3 separate regions of the Homo sapiens genome follow, and all the other regions are linked to region 2. Evidence: promoter capture Hi-C in human tissues and cell types (Jung and others, 2019). All regions are on one chromosome and are shown on one strand. The core of a region is centred on a gene start or on the middle of the fragment in contact, and the rest is flanking DNA. Distances in the headings are between cores, read along the strand shown. Region 1 has its middle 35 kb from the start of HUNK. Region 2 holds the start of HUNK (hormonally up-regulated Neu-associated kinase). Region 3 overlaps HUNK (hormonally up-regulated Neu-associated kinase).

What was found. Contacts are between HindIII fragments. The study calls those that stand out against the background at their distance.
Region 1: a contact is called between a fragment that was not itself captured here and the fragment with the promoter of HUNK in region 2, in 2 of the 25 tissues and cell types used here (hippocampus and spleen).
Region 3: a fragment that was not itself captured here is called in contact with the fragment with the promoter of HUNK in region 2 in 1 of the 25 tissues and cell types used here (thymus).

What each region holds. Positions count from the first base shown.
Region 1 is chr21:31,836,980-31,839,679 of GRCh38, forward strand. No RefSeq gene overlaps it. Among named protein-coding and RNA genes, the nearest start is that of HUNK, 35 kb to the right of the region's middle. The HindIII fragment of the contact is 4,333 bases long and covers 1-2,700 here.
Region 2 is chr21:31,871,623-31,874,322 of GRCh38, forward strand. HUNK (hormonally up-regulated Neu-associated kinase) reads left to right here and starts at 1,398. Exons shown (of 11, transcript NM_014586.2): 1 at 1,398-2,313. The coding sequence starts at 2,053. RefSeq lists silencers at 1,516-1,565, 2,492-2,671. The HindIII fragment of the contact is 17,092 bases long and covers 1-2,700 here.
Region 3 is chr21:31,908,930-31,911,629 of GRCh38, forward strand. The region is part of intron 1 of HUNK (hormonally up-regulated Neu-associated kinase); the gene reads left to right. Among named protein-coding and RNA genes, the nearest start is that of HUNK, 37 kb to the left of the region's middle. The HindIII fragment of the contact is 6,276 bases long and covers 1-2,700 here.

The DNA of each region.
Region 1 (2,700 bases), core at 15-2,514, 35 kb before region 2:
TGGTGCCATATCTAAGATGCCATTGCCAAATTCAAGGGCTCAGAAATGTACCTTTATATTTCCTTTGAGGAGTTTTATTGTTTTAGCTGTTATATTTAGGTCATTGATCTATTTTGAGTTAGCTTTTTTATATGGTGTAAGATAAGGGTCCAACTTCAATTCATTCTTTTACATGTGAAAATTCAGTTGTCCCAGCACCATCTGTTGAAGAGACTGTTATTTTCCTATTGAATGGTCTTGGCATCCTTGTCAAAAATCAATTGGCCATATATGCATGGATTTATTTTTGGACTCTTAATTCTTTTCCATTGGTCTATATGTCTACCCTTATGCCAGTACCACATTGCTTTGATTACTTTTGTTTTAGAAGTAAGTTTTGAAATTGGGACTTGAGCCCTCTGATTTTGTTCTTTTTTTTTTCAAGATTATTTTAGCTATCCAGAGCCCCCTTGGAATTCCATATAAATGTGAGGATCAGTTTTTCTATTTTTGCAAAACAGTTTGTTGCAATTTTGACAGGGACTGCTTGGAATCTGTAGATCACTTTGGGTACAACTCTGTTTTTTTTTTTTTTTCCTGGACTATTAGAATTATTGGGAAGGCTTCTTACCTGGTTCCAGAGGTGCTAACCTTGAATCTCCTTAGCCAGGAGGCTTAATAACTTCTCAACACTCTGTACATGGTGAGGTTGGAGCAGGGAAATCAGTCAGAATGTTCATTGCCTATCTTTTCTCCCAGAGCTGGCTGAACACAACATTCAAAATACCAACACATCTCTCTTGCATTTGTTCCAGCCTGGAGACCACACTTTAGAACCCACTGTCTTAGTGGGTTGATGAATCAGCATCCAATTGAGGAACTGAAATTGGACCAGCTGGGTGTTTAGAGGCTCAGTTGGAAAGCAGACACTGAACTAGCTCTTAGATTTCCAGTAAGTTTTCCCCTTTTGTTAATGTACTTTATCACTTTTGTAGTTAAATATATTTTGCAGCTCATATATATACACACATATATATATGTGTGTGTGTGTATATATATATAGCCTATATATACATATATATGTATATATAGGCTATATATATATATAGGCTAGGAATGCATTCAGTTGCATGTAACAGAAGATTTATTTTTTCACACAACGAGAAGTCCAAAGGTAGGTGGCTCTTGGCATTAGTTCAGGCACTCAAAGATCTCAGGGCTGGCATCCTTGCAGTACTTTTTGTCTTTCTCTCACGATCTCAAGATGGCTTCACCACGCCAAATATCACATCTACATTCATAACAGGAAAGGGTGGGAGAAGCACCCCAGAGCTTATATTGAGAAGACAGAAGCTTTCCAGGAAGCCCTAGAAGACTTTCCATTATCTTTTGTTAATTAGAATTGTATCCCATGGCTCTCTGTAGGTGAAAAGGAACTGGAACCTTAGGGAATAGGATTGTCATGATTGGCTTTAACCAATCCTGATCCATTGCCTGAAGCTGAGCACATTACCTTCCTAAATAAAATTGGAATTTTGTTGGCAAGGAATAAGGAGCAGCAAGATATCAGTGTACTGCTTAGGTATATACACTTATATGGTTATTTTATTATCTATTTTCTTAAGCAGTTTCTACCTCTGAGGGCCTGTTCTCATCCCTGCTATTCTAAGAATATAGAATAACCAGAAATTGTCTCGTCCTATCTATTTTTCCATTTGGGCCTGGATGGTGGCTTGGTGCCTGGTGAAGTAGAGATGGCAGGATGTGGCCTTAGGCTATAAGCAAATGTGAGCAGGCTTACAGGCGCTGTGTCTTTAAGGCCCCGAGTTCACACTATTCATGATATGTTTCCTAATTATTTCCTTTAAATGTTGAAAGTGCTTTCTTTTCTTGCCCTTTAGGGGGAAAAACCAAGTTTCAAAAAAAGCATCCCATCAATGATTCAATCAAAGAAATGTCATTAATGAGAAGAGAGAAAAAAAAGTCCTCCAACATTGTATTTGGGTAGATTTCAACAGTTAATTTGTATTTCAAAATGTGAATGTAAATTAAAAGGCTAAATACTTGAAAGTCAAAAGTATTCCTTATTTGACATTAAAGTCAGCGAATTGATCATATTTGCTGAATGTAGTTAGTAAAAAGTGCTAATTTATGGCTAAGTAATTAAACAGGGAGACAGATGGAGAATCAAATGAGTTTTCTTCACATTCAAATTTGCATACTGTTTCTGATGGTGCATACGCTTATTGCTCTGTGTGGTGCCCTCCAGTATTAGAAGAACATAGAGAGCTATTTATGTCAGCTTTGCTCAAGCAACCCCAAAGAAAGAAAAGGGGAATTATATCAAGTCCTAGACTTAGATAAAATACAGAGCTCAGTTAGATGTTCTCTTCTGTTTCTCGCTCATTCATCATTTTTGCTTCCATGTCATAGTGGGTAGAATAGGCAACTGTCAAATAGTGGAATTTTCTCCTTTCTCCATTGTATCATGGAAAACGCCATGGCGTGGGAATCAGAAGATGGTCTAATTTTAGCTTTCTCAGTAACTAGTTGTGTGACATTGGACAATTCTGTTCTCTCCAGTCTTAGTTGCCTCATTTGACATTTGAGTTTAATGTTGCCTAGGTTATTTCTAAGCAGTATGGCACAGTGGAGAAAGCAAGGACTCTAATTTTGATCTTGGATCAGCCACCTACCAGCTGAGTGATCTTGGATAACTTA
Region 2 (2,700 bases), core at 148-2,647:
CACCGCGCCCGGCCTCAGAGTGGTTTTTACCCCAAAGTGAGCTCCATATTCCTCATTCTTTAGACAGTTGCTGGACATCTATTCTGCTGGCACCACGCTAGTTACCATTCCCCTCCCATGCAACTGTCCTGTTAAGATTTGATTACTGAATTAGAGACATTAAAAGGATTGAATGAACGTTACTGAAATAGTCAAGGCCGGTGGGAGCAAAGAAGTCCCTTCAGCACAGCAAGAAAAACATTTTAAGCTGTATCTTTAATATTGGTAAACGGGAACAATGAGACAGAACAACAGAAAACGCAGTATGTTCCGTCATAATAACTGAGGCTGGTGACTTGTAACAGGTAGGTGGATGAATATAGTAGCGTATTTAAAATTAGATGTATTGAAAGCAGGCATTTCTCTGCGTCCCTCTTCAGATGGGTCAGCGAGACCCCCAGACACTGGATTGATGACAGCTGTTGTTCCCCCACCCCCCACTCCCAATCTCAAAGCATTGCTATGGGTCGATGTCATACTTGTTTACTCAGGAATAAACAATGAAAGGAACTTTGTTAGGACCAAATCCTTCCTTTCAGCTCTGATGTTGCATGATCGGGGTGAAGTTTCCATCAAATGCGGGCACCTCAACAGGTAGCATTTTGTAAATGCCTCCTCCTACCTACCCTCCTCCTTCTCCCTCACAAGATTCTTCATTTTCGGTTTGAGAAGACGTTGGGGATCCTGGGAGAGGGTCCAGTGTCGTCAGGGCAGTTGCAATTGTTTATGCGATGAGCACAGTCACAGCGCTTGCAGAACAAAAGCATCGAAGAGAGGCGAGCGCCGGTCCACCTCCTGCAATCACAGGCATCATTTCAATGGAAGGCAAAGAAGGTGTAAGCTACAAGCAGAGGCAGCAAACGCCCTGGTTCCTACATTGCTGCTGCTACTATTACTGCTGTGGCTGCGCCTCCTCCAACACAGCCAACCAGGCTGCGTGCGAGCCCGGGCAGACGCCTGGCCGCCTCCCCACCCTTTCTTCCAGCCATCCATCTATCCTTCCACCCCCGGTCCAGGGGGCCCTACTGTGTGGCGGACTCAGGGCCGGGCACGCAACCCGACTCACAGTCCACGGAGTTCGAGAGCCTTCCCCCTTCCCCCCGCCCCGGGTGGGTGCGGCCAGTGGGGGATTTCACCGCCGAAAGGTCCAGAAAACCCAAGCCCAGAATCCGGGCAAGAGGCGCAGCCGGAGGCGGCCCGACCTGGGCGGCCCGGGAGCGCGCGCCTCCGAGGCCGCGCAGGTTCTCCCTGTCTGGCGCTCAGGTGGCTTCTCCGTCCACTCCGCCGCTCCCCTCCCCGGGCCCTCCCCTCTCCAGCGAGGGTCGAGTTTGACTGTGGCGCGCGGGGAAGGAGGGGCTACTAGGGATTTGAAAGTGCACGGGCTGCGGAGTGGAGCTCGCATCTGTTCCCGCCGCCCGCGAGCGGATTAAATTTCTGCAAATTCAAACTGAATGGGGCTTTCTTCTGCTGCCTTCCAGAGGGCGCCGGCAGCCCGCCGCGCGCTTCTCTCCGGCGGGAGCGGCCGCCCAGCGCACGGCTAGGAGCGATCGCGGGAGCCCGACCCAAGCCCGTGCGGGCCAGACGGCGGCGGCGAGGCGGAGGCTGCGGAGGCACCCGGGCTCCCGGACCCAGGCACCCGGACCCCGGGACCCAGGCGCCGCCGGACCGCGCCCCACCCCGCGCGCCCGAGCAGGGCGACTGTCATTAGCTTCCTGGACGGGACCCGGGGCGGGATCCTGGTGTCCTGAAAGGGGCCCGGGCGACCCTAAGAGGAAGAACTTTTGGGGGCGGGGTCCCCGGTCCCGCGTCCCCTGGGCAGCCGCTATTGTCTACGCGCCTCGCTGGGCGGCGCGGGGGGCGTGATCGCGGCGGCCCCGGGCTCTGGGTGCGGAGACCCAGGCGGGGCTGGGCCCAGGGCGGCGGCGGGAGAAGCCGGGGAAGCCGAAGAGCCTGGGGAGGAGGAGCTGCGAGCGCGGGAGACGAGCAGGAGCCGCGCGGGCCGCGGCGAGCGCGATGCCGGCGGCGGCGGGGGACGGGCTCCTGGGGGAGCCGGCGGCGCCTGGGGGCGGCGGCGGCGCGGAGGACGCGGCCAGGCCCGCGGCGGCCTGCGAGGGAAGTTTCCTGCCTGCCTGGGTGAGCGGCGTGCCCCGCGAGCGGCTCCGCGACTTCCAGCACCACAAGCGCGTGGGCAACTACCTCATCGGCAGCAGGAAGCTGGGCGAGGGCTCCTTTGCCAAGGTGCGCGAGGGGCTGCACGTGCTGACCGGGGAGAAGGTGAGTCTCCCGGGCGCCGTGGGGCTGGGGCACAGGGGCGGGAGTCGGCGGCCAGGACCCCGCGGGGAGCACTGCACTGGGAGTCCCAGTGTGCAGTCCCGGGCCAAGCGCCTTCCCCCTCCGCCCGGCTTTCCTGTTGGGTTAAAACGCGCGCTCAGCATCTCGCAGCCTTTCCCGAAGGCGGCCTGCGGTCCGCTGCCCGGGGGTTGGGGGCTTGGGAGGGGACGGCCTTGCCCCGGGAAGCGTCCCGCGCGGCCGTTCTGCTCGTGGAAGGGCGCCGCCTGGCGACACTAGCGCGGGGGGCGGGATGGGGCCCCTCTGCCCTTCAGGCCGGCAGGGGCGGCGGATCCGTGGCGAGGCGGGAACCAGGGCTAGAGGAGGTGGGCT
Region 3 (2,700 bases), core at 48-2,547, 37 kb after region 2:
ATACCAAGATGAATCACACACGGTCTCAAAAAACTTGTAAACTGGGCCCTTTTGACACTTTTCCAAACCAAAGAGACAGGATGCTAGCATTACCTGTTTTAACAATACTCATCTCCCCTTAAGATTCCCGAGTTTTGTGCACTGTAAGTGGGCAGCACTCCGGAGGGACTGAGGGTTAATTTTATCCTTGTGGATAATAAATGCATCTTGGACAAAGGAAGAACACATATTTTAACTAAGTAGCAGCCTTCTGATAAGAATTCCAGCAATTGCACAAGCCCCACCGTTGTCTGTACAGCCCAGCAATTCTACCTTGCTATCTCAATATTCTCCGTTTTGCATTCCTCTCTTGCAGGAACCAGTTTCTAGTCTCTCACCAGCAGGATACGTTTCCAGGGTGATCTGCTTACTGAATTGGGGCTGGAGCCCAGGCGCAGAGGATCCCCGGGAAAGTGGCTTGAGAACTCCCCTGGGTGGGCGTGGGAGGGTTTCCCAGCCCTGCGTTGGGAGCTGCCATTGTTTTTTCCTTAGTCTTGCTTTTTGCCTTTGCCCAGCACCTGGTTCTGTTAGCATCGCCAAGATCAGTCCTAATGAGCTTTGTTGTTTAAACTGGGGAAGGAAACTTTTTCCCTCAACAAAAAGGCGAATTTTAGCTCAGCAGCAGGAGGGTGGCCAGTGGGGAGCCAGGGGTCAGAGGCAGTTGAGCCCTGCTACATAAATAGCAGCAATTAATGGGCCCCTGTAAAAGACAGGGATGTGTGTGTTTGCTGTCTAGCATCGTTTCTCTGCAAATCGGAGCAACACTGAAATTAATTATAAAGCCAGCAAAGGCTATTTTCTGCTTTCTGTTAAATAAGTATTGTCCACACAGGAGCACGTTCCACTCGGATGCATTTACCCACATCGTTTCTTTGGAAGATGGCGTGAAACCAATTTATTTTCAAAACTCCCCACTGGGTCATGCTAATCACCACAGTTTTCAGCCCTTTTATGCGGAATTCAGGCTTGGGCTGGAGCCGGGAGCCGGGAGCCCTCAGGCCCTTGTCATTTCCTTCATTGCTCTGGGGGCTTTCCCTTTGCCCACCCTGCCCAAATCATTTCCTCCAGTGCTGTCAACCAGGTTTGAATTTTTATGATGAGATTTACAAAGCAAGCCATTCTGTTATTACTAATAACCATCATAAAGGTTTCATAAAGGTTCTGCTTTGGTTTGCTGGGGCTAGTACAGTAAATAACACAGACCTGGGGGGCCTTCAACAACAGACATTGATGTTGTCTGAGTTCTGCAGGCTGGAAACCTGAGATCAAGGGGTCAGTAGGTTTGGTTTCTCCTGAGGCCTCCTCTCCTTGGCTGACTGAAGGCTGCCCTCCCACTGTGTCTTCGCACAGACATCCTCTGTATTCTCATCCCTGGTGTCTCTCTCTTCGTATCAAGACACCAGTCCTGTTGGATTAGGGCATCACCCTCATGTCCTCATTTAACCTTATTTCCCTGTTTAAAGGCCCTGTTTCCAAATACAGCCATCTTTCTGTATCTGCAGGGATTGGTTTCAGGATATCCTTTTTTTTTTTTTTTTGAGACTGAGTCTCACTCCATCACTCAGGCTGGAGTACAATGGCGCGATCTCGGCTCACCGCAACCTCTGCCTCCCAGGTTCAAGTGATTGTTGTGCCTCAGCCTCCCAAGTAGCTGGGATTACAGGCATGCGCCACCACGCCTGACTAATTTTTGTATTTTTAATAGAAACGGGGTTTTGCCATGTTAGCCAGGCTGGTCTCGAACTCCCAACCTCAGGTGATCTGCCTGCCTCTGCCTCCCAAAGTGCTGGGCAGGATCTCCTTCTGATACCAGAGTCCAAGGATGCTCAAGTTCTTGATAACAAATAGTGTCATATTTGCATATATCCTATACATATCCTCCTGTATATTTTAAATCATCCCCACCTTACTTAGAATACCTAATGCAATGCCTACACATCACTTCATTCACGTGGATTCAACTTAGCACTTGGCATGCGGCAAATTCAAGTTTTGCCTATTGGAACTTTGTGAATTATTTTCCCCAACATTTCTGATCTGAGGTTGGAACCCATGGAAGGTCAACTGTACAATCACATTGGGGCTGGAATTTTGGGGGAGGACACGACTTAGCCCATAACAGATTCTGAAATAGTTAATAGATTCTTCTTCTTCCAACTGCACGTGGATTCATTCATTCAAGAAATACTCATTGAGCGCCGCCTGTGTGCGGGGGCTGTTCTGGATGTGGTAAGCATGTCAGTGAGGGACCATCTCTTCCCTTCTGGGGCTTCTAAGCGTCAGGCAGATTCCATGCTCACTCAGTTCTGTGGGACTTCAGAGGTGATAAGTGCTATGGAACAAATAGCCTCGGGGCACAGGGGTTGTGAGCTCCAGATGATGTGGTTATAAGTGGGTGAGTCAGGGAAGCTTCTCTGAGAGCTGACATTTCGTCAGGATCTTAGAGGTTGAGGGAGTGCTATGTGGCCAAGATCCCCAGGAGGGAACACCCCTGTTTCTGCTGCTGAGGAACAACGAGGAGGCGGGTCAAGCCGAGGGAGCCGTGGGCTGCCTGATGGGAGTGGCGCAGGCATCCTCATGACGTGGATTCTTTCCTTTGGGAGCCACGGGGAGCCTGGGTGTGTTTTCATGGTCCTCACTTTTGGGTAGCCTTCCTGTCCC